3 separate regions of the Homo sapiens genome follow, and regions 2 and 3 are each linked to region 1. The links are contacts of gene promoters, found by promoter capture Hi-C in human tissues and cell types (Jung and others, 2019). All regions are on one chromosome and are shown on one strand. The core of a region is centred on a gene start or on the middle of the fragment in contact, and the rest is flanking DNA. Distances in the headings are between cores, read along the strand shown.

Evidence for each region. The method cuts DNA at HindIII sites, captures the fragments that hold promoters and counts their contacts. A contact is called where the count stands out against the background at its distance.
Region 2: a fragment that was not itself captured here is called in contact with the fragment with the promoter of SGSM3 in region 1 in 2 of the 25 tissues and cell types used here (IMR-90 fibroblasts and pancreas).
Region 3: a fragment that was not itself captured here is called in contact with the fragment with the promoter of SGSM3 in region 1 in 6 of the 25 tissues and cell types used here (H1 embryonic stem cells, IMR-90 fibroblasts, dorsolateral prefrontal cortex and 3 more).

What each region holds. Positions count from the first base shown.
Region 1 is chr22:40,368,745-40,372,289 of GRCh38, reverse strand. SGSM3 (small G protein signaling modulator 3) reads right to left here and starts at 1,696. Exons shown (of 22, transcript NM_015705.6): 1 at 1,602-1,696. ADSL (adenylosuccinate lyase) reads right to left here. Exons shown (of 13, transcript NM_000026.4): 13 at 2,923-3,545. RefSeq lists silencers at 1,311-1,480, 1,541-1,650 and an enhancer at 1,801-2,010. The HindIII fragment of the contact is 4,461 bases long and covers 1-3,203 here.
Region 2 is chr22:40,259,704-40,263,248 of GRCh38, reverse strand. It overlaps TNRC6B (trinucleotide repeat containing adaptor 6B), which reads right to left. Exons shown (of 23, transcript NM_001162501.2): 4 at 1,076-1,417. LOC124905121 (a long non-coding RNA gene) reads left to right here. Exons shown (of 2, transcript XR_007068107.1): 2 at 2,881-3,545. Among named protein-coding and RNA genes, the nearest start is that of TNRC6B, 84 kb to the right of the region's middle. The HindIII fragment of the contact is 8,779 bases long and covers 1-3,545 here.
Region 3 is chr22:40,298,083-40,301,627 of GRCh38, reverse strand. TNRC6B (trinucleotide repeat containing adaptor 6B) reads right to left here. Exons shown (of 23, transcript NM_001162501.2): 13 at 1,042-1,173; 14 at 623-718; 15 at 295-478. Among named protein-coding and RNA genes, the nearest start is that of ADSL, 47 kb to the left of the region's middle. The HindIII fragment of the contact is 7,080 bases long and covers 1-3,545 here.

The DNA of each region.
Region 1 (3,545 bases), core at 447-2,946:
CCGGGTGTGGTGGCGGGCACCTATAGTCCCAGCTACTCGGGAGGCTGAGGCAGGAGAATGGCGTGAACCCGGGAGGCAGAGCTTGCAGTGAGCCGAGATCGCGCCACTGCACTCCAGCCTGGGCAACAGAGCGAGACTCCGTCTCAAAAAAAAAAAAAAAAAAAAAAGGGGGGGGGGACAGGGAGAAGAACTAAAGCTCAGGCTACTATGATAATTAGGGATGAAAAAGCTACATTCACTTAGGATTATCAAAAGCCAGGAAAGATATCTATAGAATTACAAATTAATCGGGCCTGGCGCAGTGGCTCACGCCTGTAATCCCAGCACTTTGGGAGGCCCGAGACGGGCGGATCACCTGTGGTCAGGAGTTCGAGACCAGCCTGGCCAACATGGCGAAAAACCCCGTCTCTATTAAAAATACACAAATTAGCCGGGCGTGGTGGCGGGCGCCTGTAATCCCAGCTACTCGGTAGGCTGAGGCAGGAGAATCACTTGAATCCGGGAGGCGGAGCTTGCAGTGAGCCGAGATCATGTCATTGCACTCCAGCCCGGGCAAGAGCGAAACTCCCGTCTTAAAAAAAAAATAGAAAAGAAAAGAAAAGAAGAATTACAAATTAATCACCAAGAACAGAAATAGTGTAAAAACAAAGATGTAATTCAACTGTTTAGAGTGCAGAGATAATTGGAACTAAAAGAGCAAGAAAAGCGGGAAACATATGTACCTATAAACCTAATCACAAACCTGTCACAAAAACTACGAGTAAACGAGTCGAAGTTGAAAATGAGTTTTTGTGAATCAGAGTCTGATTTGACTTGAATTTACTAAGAAAGAATAAGAAAGGTGTAGAACATTCCAGGACATCTCTATCCCACCGCAAAACAAAAAAGAGCCATCAACCCACCACAAACGTGCAGCGTGAGACTGGAAGATACACTAGTCACCCAGTCACTGAAAACAACCTTTGAAACATCTTTATTTTTCTTTCCAAATAAAAAAGAGCCTAGGTCAGTAAACTAAGTATGAGAATAATTTTCAAAATTCCAGTCCTAACCACACCGGATGATTCTGGCTAACGTATGCCTCAGTTTCCCCCGTGCTAAAATGCAAACACACCGGTGTTCCGAGTCTCGGGCCTGGATCCGAGCCCGGGTTCTGCACCTGGATCTGAATCTTAAAGGGAAAACCGCAAGTTAAACCTGAGGAGGAGTCTGCAGCTGTCCCGGTGCCAGAGCCAGCCAGGCTCTTTTTAGAAAGCCCCCCGCCTCAGGCGCGGTTTTCGTAAAACCGCTCCCGGCTGCCAGCGCGGTGGATTCCGGCTGGCGCCCCGAACACCTGAGGTGGCCTCGGCCGTCTAGGGGCGGCCGCACCGGAGGACGCAGCCGACCTCCCCGCCCCGCCGCGTCCCCGGCCCCCATTCCAACGGCGACGCGAGCAAGGTCGGCCCGGCGGCTCTCCGGCCCGAGGCGGTGCTTCTCTCGTGGGCGCCTTCGGCCCATACGACCCTCGGTCGGACAGTCCGACCACAGCCGCCCCGCAGCCCCCGCCTGAGGGGAACTTGTAGGCGCCGGTGGGTCTCCGCTGACTCCCGCCCCGCACTCACCTGCCCCACGGGCCACCTCAGCGCCAATCCGGGTCGGGTTAGCAGCTTCCCCACTCGCACCCAGTCAGCGCTCAGCGGCGCCTAAGCGCACGCGTGGCGGGGCGTGGCATGGGCGGCCGCGGGTCATGCTGGGGGCTGTAGTCGTTCCCGCCCACTAGGCGGGGCGCGTCCAGGGGCTTTGCGCCCCCATCCCAAGGCCAGCATGCATAGCGATGATTTCTTCGTCTGCACCGCAGCCTGAGAAGCTTGGGACAGTATGGTGTGGACCAGCAGTCAGGGTGGTGGGAGATAGACGCTGCAAATAACTTGCTAATTTTTTTTTTTTTTTTTTTTTGAGATGGAGTCTCGCTCTGTCACCCAGGCTGAAGTGCAGTGGCGTGATCTCGGCTCACTGCAACCTCCACCTCCCAGGTTCAATCAGTTCTCTGCCTCAGCCTCCCGAGTAGCTGGGATTACAGGCGCCCGCCACCACGCCCAGCTAATTTTTTTGTATTTTTAGTACAGTATTTTTAGTAGAGACGGGGTTTCACCATGTTGGCCAGGCTGGTCTCGAACTCCTGACCTCAGATGATCTGCCCGCTTCAGCCTCCCAAAGTGCTGGGATTACAGGCGTGAGCCACCGCGCCAGGCCGGAAAACGAAATTTTCTGAGTACCTTCTGTGTCAGATTCTATGCTGTGCAATTCCCATCTCACCAACCCTCACATCCACCTAGGCTTCATATCACCTTTCTAGGGACTCCTAACCCTCGTGCTTCCACTAAAGCTGTGTTTACAAACATCAGGCTCTCCTGGTTCTTAAATGAAACTGAGCATCAGCCAGGGAAAGAGGGCATTAAGTGTCCAGGTGTCTGACTTCAGCTGAGCAGACATTTCATCAGTTGCCCCAAGTTCTGCCCAGAACCTGACATCTGGGTAGTTCTGATGCTGGAGTCCGTGTGAATTTAAACCAATCTTAAAGAAAATACAACAGCCTGGGTTAACAGAGTGAGACCCTGTCTCTACAAAAAACAACAAAAAATGAACCACGTGTGGTTGTGTGTGCCATAGTCCCAGCTACTCAAGAGGCTGAGGTGAGAGGATCGCTTGAGCCCAGGAAATCAAGGCTGCAGTGAACTGTGGTCATGCCACTGCACTCCAGCTTGGGCGACAGAGCAAGATCTTGTCTATATATATATATAAAAGATAGATATATGAATGTATATTATATATAATATATATGAATGTATATTATATATAATATATATGAATGTATATTTTATATATATACATAAATGTACATTTAATATATATATGTTTTCCAGTGAACACGCAGACCACCCATCAAATTAAAATGTTACATGGGAAAATCAGATTACAAAGTTGCATACAAGTATGTAAATACAAAAATAAAGGAGAATGGAAAAGGAAAGAAGACAAGAGATGCACCAACAAATCCACCCATTCAAATAGTCCAGGAAGAAACCAGGTCAAATCGCCAATCACTGGAGATCATTAGTCTAACAGAATTGTTAGGACAGGAACAAGACTGTTATTTCCTTATTTTCTATGAGGAAATGTATTAACTAAAATCCATGGTATCCTATATCCCCAGTATCTGTTATGTAATATAAATTCTCACATTACAGATAAACTGATAGTAGTTGCTGCCTCCAAGTTGCCCATAGCAGAGAAGGAAGTAGACAGAATATCTGGTCAGAGTCCCATGACTTAATTTCCTTGTGTCAGACTTAGTATCCTTTCAAGATTTTTTCTGTTTTGTTTTTTCAGATGGAGTCTCGCTCCGTTGCCCAGGCTGGAGTACAGTGGCATGATCTTGGCTCACTGCAACTTCTGCCTCCCAGGTTCAAGCAATTCTCCTGTCTCAGCCTCCCAAGTAGCTGGGACTATAGGCGCCTGCCACCACGCCCGGTTGATTGTATTTTTAGTAGAGACGGAGTTTCACC
Region 2 (3,545 bases), core at 758-3,257, 110 kb after region 1:
AATAAAGCATCCTACTGGTGACAACCATCAATTCATTATCTTTGCCAATGCCTAATGGTATTCAAGCTCTGAATTTTAATATCACCCCAAAAGACATTTTAAGTTGAAATCTGTTAATAAACTTTAAAAGATATTTAGAATTTCTTAGCTGTTAGTTGACTTAGTATTCATCTATTAAAAACTCTCACAACTTTTTTTTTTTTTTTTTTAAGACGGAGTCTGGCTCTGTCACCCAGGCTGGAGTGCAATGGCGCGACCTCGGCTCACTGCAAGCTCCGCCTCCTGGGTTGACGCCATTCTCCTGCCTCAGCCTCCCGAGTAGCTGGGACTACAGGAGCCCGCCACCATGCCTGGCTAATTTTTTTATATTTTTAGTAGAGACAGGGTTTCACCATGTTAGCCAGGGTGGTCTCGATCTCCTGACCTGGTGATCCACCCGCCTCGGCCTCCCAAAGTGCTGGGATTACAGGCGTGAGCCACCGTGCCCGGCCAAAAACTCTCAAAACTTCTAGTAGAACCTTTCAGCTAAATATCCCTTATTTCTACATACAGTTTTTAACAAAGCTCAAAATCCAGGGCCCACAAAAAGAAATACTGAGTTTAAAAATCTAATTTAAAAACTATAGTATTATTTTAGAATCCTCCGAAGATTCTATATTGCAATGTAGCAAATCATTTTCTCTATCCTCCTAGCATTCTGGAAACATAACACAGGCATCTAAAGATTCGCCTTCGCACAAGCCCCATGTCCAATTATGCCCTGAACACATATGACGGTGGAACTATGGAGGCTCAAATTTGTAACACTCTAGTCTGAGAAGGAAAAAAGGCCCCCAAAATAATAAGCAACAGCAGTTAAGTTAGCCCTTATGCCAAGAGCACACACTTACGGAACACTAAACCTCAGTTCCAAGAATCACCAATACACATCGCATACTAGGATCCTCTCTCATCTTTTGACTAATCCCAGTGGTTTATATAATGAATGGCTTTCCTGGACTTTACATCAAGCAATGCAAACAAAGTGCTCTCTCTCTGTCAAGCTGCCATGCATTCGATTCACAGGGTGCCTTACCTGGCGCAGTCCCACTCTCACTCTGCAGCAGCGCTCCTGTCACTTGTGCGTTGTTTGGGTTTGCTCCAGGTGCTGTGCAGGGAGGAGGCCCTGCCCCACCCCCAAGGAGCATGCAGGACGGTGGAGGGGGCTGCCCACGTTTTAGTAACACTTTGTGGTCCTGCTGGCAACGGAATCGCGGCGGCACCTCCCGAGGCATGTAGCGGGCGGCGCTTGGCGGTTGTCCGTTCGGCACTGCCACCCTTTTGGCATTGTTGCCACCATTGACTGGTGGCGATGGAGAGCTGCCAATTGGGCTGGCGGCCGTTGGTTGGCTTAAACTTGGTTTCGTCACTTCGGGCACTAAAAGAGAGGGGTTGGGAAACAGTCTTTGAAATACATCAAATACATTTTTTCTAAAAATTTTAAAAATAATTTTATTATTTTATTTAGAGATGGGGTCTTGCCATGTTGCCCATGCTGGTCTTGAACTCGGGCTCAAGGGACTCTCCCACCTTGGCTTTCCAAAGTGCTAGAATTACAAGAGTGAGCCACTGTGCCTGGCCAAGATTATTATTTATTTATTTATTTATTTATTTTTGAGACGGAGTCTCACACTGTCACCCAGTGTGAGTGTCGCCCAGGCTGGAGTGCAGTGGTGCAATCTCCGCTCACTGCAACCTCCGCCTCCCAGGTTCAAGCAATTCTCCTGCCTCAGCCTCCCAAGTAGCTCGGATTACAGGCGCCCACCACCAAAACCAGCTAATTTTTTGTATTTTTAGTACAGACAGGTTTTCACTATGTTGACCAGGCTGGTCTTGAACTCCTGACCTCATGATCCGCCTGCCTTGGCCTCCCAAAGTGTTGAGATTACAGGCATGAGCCACTGCACCCAGCCTATTTTTTATTTTTTTGAGATGAGGTCTTGCTGTATAACTCGGGCTGGAGTGCAGTGATCTTGGCTTGCTGCAACTTCTACCTCCAGGGCTCAAGTGATCCTCCCACCTCAGCCTCTTGAGTAGCTGGGACTACAATGCATACACCACTATGCCCAACTAATTTTTTTTTCCTCCTCTAGAGACAGGGTTTTGCCATGTTGCCTACCTAGACTGGTCTCGAACTCCTGAACTCAAGCTATTTACCCACCTCGGCCTCCCAAAGTGCTGGGATTACAGGTGTGAGCCACCACACCCAGACCCTGGCTAAGATTATTTGTAAGAAAGCTTACATGGTACCAATTCTAACAAAGTAACTTCTCCTTTTACTCTACTCTCAAGGGAAACAGTTTTTCCAAATTCTCCACAATCTCTCCAGTTTGCTGAAGGTAGGATGAAGGTGGCGGCTGACAGTGACAAGAATTTAAACACAGCAAGGTCATGGAATACATTCCATTAATTAAGGCGGAGAGGGAAGCAATCAACATTCACTCCCCTAAATCAACAGTGGAATTAATTCCCTGAAGTGCTGCCTAGAAGAGTTAAATGTCCATGGCAAAGTCCTTGGGAAAGGTTTCAAGCCTCAGTCCAAGGGTCCCTTCCCTTCATCCACATTCTTAAAAGATCTACCCCTGAGTAAACTTTATTGAAGCCCCTGGCCTAGATGGGCTAAACATTCTTCCTAAGTGCTCCTGGAACACATCATCCATCTCTCTCTACCATGAAAATTCTCCATTCAAAAATCCATCTATCTCTACCACCGAAATTCTCCATCTACAAGTCCCATCTCTCTCTATCACAGAAATTCTCCATTTACAAGTCCTTCTCCCTCACCAGGCCATGACTTCCTGAGGGCAAGGACCCATCTTTCATCTTTTCTTTCTTCCTTAGGGCATGGCACAGAGTGGACTCTTACAAGAAACTCCAGGCCTAGAAAATCACAAACTCAGCTTGGTTCTGGTTTCTACAGCTACCTGGACTCAAAGACTTGCACCGCTCTCTGTGTAAATACTAGAAATGTTACAAATCTTTTTGCTTTTCTTTAAAAAAAAAAAAAAGTGTTTCTTCCCAATTCTTTAAAATAGAAATTTCAAAATGTAAATACTTTTTCTGTTTACTTTAAATCATTTGATTTTTTTAAACTTAATTTTAAAAATGGCCCGCACACAGCGTGGGAATGTCGGGGCAACCGTGAAACCGCACTCTGCCGGACCCTCTGGCTCTTCCCGTCGAACATACAGAGAAGGCTCTCTTAGATCTGTACCTCCCTCGCTGCATGCTGCCAGAAGATCACTACCCTCTCCATAAAAATCTACCTGGCAAATAGAGGCTGGAAGTCGTACAGAAATAATCATCAAGCCTGACAGTTCGGATGATTCTGAGGCCCAAATCCCTGCCTCCCAGGGTAACGTCAGGGCCAACTCTGGGGGTAGTACTGCTTTGACTGCTAAAATGATGCGGGGCCAGCATGTTGCTTGCTGAACTGGCTCCTTTATGAGAGAGATACATCATCAGAAATCAGGCGGCCCAATCTATGCCACTACTGGACATTAACA
Region 3 (3,545 bases), core at 380-2,879, 71 kb after region 1:
TACTGTGTTAAATAAAATAAACCAGACACACACACACACACAAAAAAAAGGAAGACTGCTTTGGAGCCAGAGAAGTTAGAGGCCTGGCTCTGCTATTTAGTAACCATGTGGTGAGCTCTGGAAACCCACTGAAACTCAAGAAGCCTCAGATGTCTCATCTGTAAACCAGGGATAAGAATATTTACCTACCTTGTACAGCTGACATAAAAAAGGAGGGTAATGCAGGTGCAACCCCTACCACAGGCCTAGAGAGGTAGATTTCTAAAAAGGTAATTTTCTCTACCAACAACTTACCAGAACCATATCCAGGTATTGGCCCTTTGGTTTGAAGGTCTGGGAGCCCCACATTCAATGCGTTGGGTACCATGTTGTCCAGATGCGGCTTGGGCCCAACAGGATGAGAGGGCGAGTGCTTCATGCCTGGCTGCCTCTGCTGCTGCTGCTGCTGCTGCTGCAGTGCACTCACCATTCGAGCCAGCTGAGGGCCAAGAGAGACAGACACGTGATAAGCACGGCCCCGAACTTCCCAGGAAAAGACTGTGCCCGGTTCTTTGCCATCAGAGGCTAAGCCGGGATGTACTCCTCCAACACAGCACTGGAGGGACCCTGCCTACCCACGTACCTGCTGCTCTTGCTGTTGGCGTACAGCTTGAGAAATCTTTCTCTGGTTCTGTAACAACTGCTGCTGTTGCTGCTGCTGCAAGAGAAGCTGACATGCCTACAAAACAAGGGGGAAAGACAGAAAACCAAAGTTTCCTGAGATTGATTTACTGAGGACACCTAAAGGGTCTGTGCACTGAAGTACAGGTCACACAATCAAAAGTATCCAGGAGGGAAGTAACACCAAATTCCCGGTCTCTTGGTTACATTTTCCTCCAGTTGAGCTGACAACCCTTAAGCACACTCCATAGTTTGCAAAGAAGTGTGGACTAGCACCCTTTGAACATAGAAAGTGGCAAAGATGTGGGAAGCAAATCAAAGCTAAAGAAAAAAAAAAAGCAAATGACCTTTTTAGCCACAGGAAGAAAATCTTCTACTTACCAACTGAAACTGGGGAATTTGTGGAAGCTGGCTCAGCATGGCAATTTGTTGAGGAGATAACTGGGGCCCCACATTGAAAAGACCTGGACTCAGGCCACTGTTGGGAAACTGCTTGAGCATTGAGGCAGAAACCTAGCCAAAAAAATAAAAAAGAAAGAAAAGAAAAGGAATCTTCAGAATTTATCAAAATAAAACTGTTTTTCTGTGAAAAGAATCTTGATGAATCTAAAGCAAGAGTTGTCAAACTTTTCTGTGAAAAATATATAACAGGAAAAATACACTCAAGGGTTAACAATGATTATCTTGGAGCAGTGAGATTACAACAGTTTTTAAATTTTCTTCTTAGACTTTCCAATTTTCTACAATAAAAAGTATAAATTTTATATTCAGGAAAACATCTTCAAGAAAAAAAAATTGATGACAATATGGCTTTTATCCAACCAAGAAATTATTACTGGAAATGTGCCATAAAACAAAACATGCTACATTGCATAAAGCTAATAAATAATACTTACGTGAAAGTATTTCTGTGCTACAAGTAAGACAAATATATTAACTTGTAAATAGAAGACATGAGTTTCAATGCATGGCTTCTGATAGCAAACACCCACAGAGTGGCAGTGTAAAAAAAGAGCCAGCATCAAAGAGCCTGGAAGGTCACTGACCCGGCAGGGTCCTTCTCCCTGTTCTCAGGAGTGAGCTAGGCGAGGCTGCAGGAAGCTCTGGCGACAGAGGATTCCCTCCTATCTTTGGTTTGCTCCTCTAAGATGATTTAAGTAAGAAGAAGTGAGTTTCCCTGCACCCTCATCTACTGAACCCACTGGACTAGTTGGGGCCATGGAGAACAAGCTTAAGAACGTGTCCGTGAGTGCCAAGTAGTGTAGCACAATGGCCAAGAATTTAGTCCTAGAGGCTGGGCACAGTGGCTCACACCTGTAATCCCAGCAGTTTGGGGGACTAGCTTGTGCCTAGGAGATTGAGAACACCTGGGCAACATAGCGAGCTATCATCTCTTTAAAAAAATAAAAAGGTTAAAAAAAGACTTTAGAGCTGGGTGTGGTGGCTCACGCCTGTAATCCCAGCACTTCAGGAGGCTGAGGTGGGTGGATTACCTGAGGTCAAGAGTTCAAGACCAGCCTGACCAACATGCAGAAACCCCGTCTCTACTAAAAATACAAAATTAGCTGGGTGTGATGGCGCATGCCTGTAATCCCAGCTACTAGGGAGGCTGAGGCAGGAGAATTGCCTCAAGCTGGGAGGCGGAGGTTGTGGTGAGCCAAGATGGTGCCATTGCACTCCAGCATGGGCAACAAGAGTGAAATTCCATCTCAAAAAAAAAAAAAAAAGACTTTAGTTCTAGAGGCAGACTGCCTGGGTTTGTAATCCCAGCTCTGCCTGCCTCCCCAGTTTTGTTTTTTTTTTTTTTTTGTTTTTTTTTTTTTGAGACAGGGTCTCACTCTGTCACCCAGGCTGGAATGCAGTGGCGTGATCATGGCTCACTGCAGCCTTGACCTCCCGGCTGGTCTCAAACTCCTGGGCTCAAGCCATCCTCTCAAAGTGTTGTGATTACAAGTATGAGCCACCGCTCCCAACCCAGCTCTGCCATTTCTTTTTTTTTTTTGAGACGGAGTCTCGCTCTTTCACCCAGGCTGGAGTGCAGTGGCGCTATCTTGGCTCACTGCAAGCTCCACCTCCTGGGTTCACGCCATTCTCCTGCCTCAGCCTCCCGAGTAGCTGGGACTACAGGCGCCCGCCACTGCGCCCGGCTAATTTTTGGTATTTTTAGTAGAGACGGGGTTTCACCGTGTTAGCCAGGATGGTCTCAATCTCCTGACCTCATGATCCGCCCGCCTCGGCCTCCCAAAGTGCTGAGATTACAGGCGTGAGCCACCGCGCCCGGCCCCAGCTCTGCCATTTCTAAGCTGACTCAGAGCAAGTTACTCATTTAGCCTTTCTGACCCTTACTTTCCTGATCTCCAACTGGAATGACAACAATATTAACTTCAGTCATTATTAGATTTTATGAGTTAATCAATGTCAAATGCTTAGAGATGTCCTCCATAAATGTTCACATTATTCCACAGGCTGATTCTTCAAATGTCTTCAGACAATGATTACAGTTCCCTTGCATCTCATCTTCAGGCTCAATATGATCAGTTCTTTCACCTGTATCTCCTTCCATTTCTTGGTGAAGAGCCAAGAACAGAAAGGTATTTTCTAGAGTAGTCTAACACCAAGTAGACCCTAAGCATTCTGTTAAAAGCTGTGCTTTCATGAACAATGCCTAAGATGTCAATTTCTCTGGTGATTGTAACTCCTGATTCACACACTAAGCTTAATGTTAGTTAAAATCTATAATATTTAAAAACATGCTTTTGTTCCCTCATGTAATATTTAACCCATGTAGCTGGGTTTTTTTTAATGATTTTTTAAATTTATTTTTATTTTTATTTTTATTTTTTGAGATGGAGTCTCGCTCTGTTGCTCAGGCTGGAGTGCAGTGG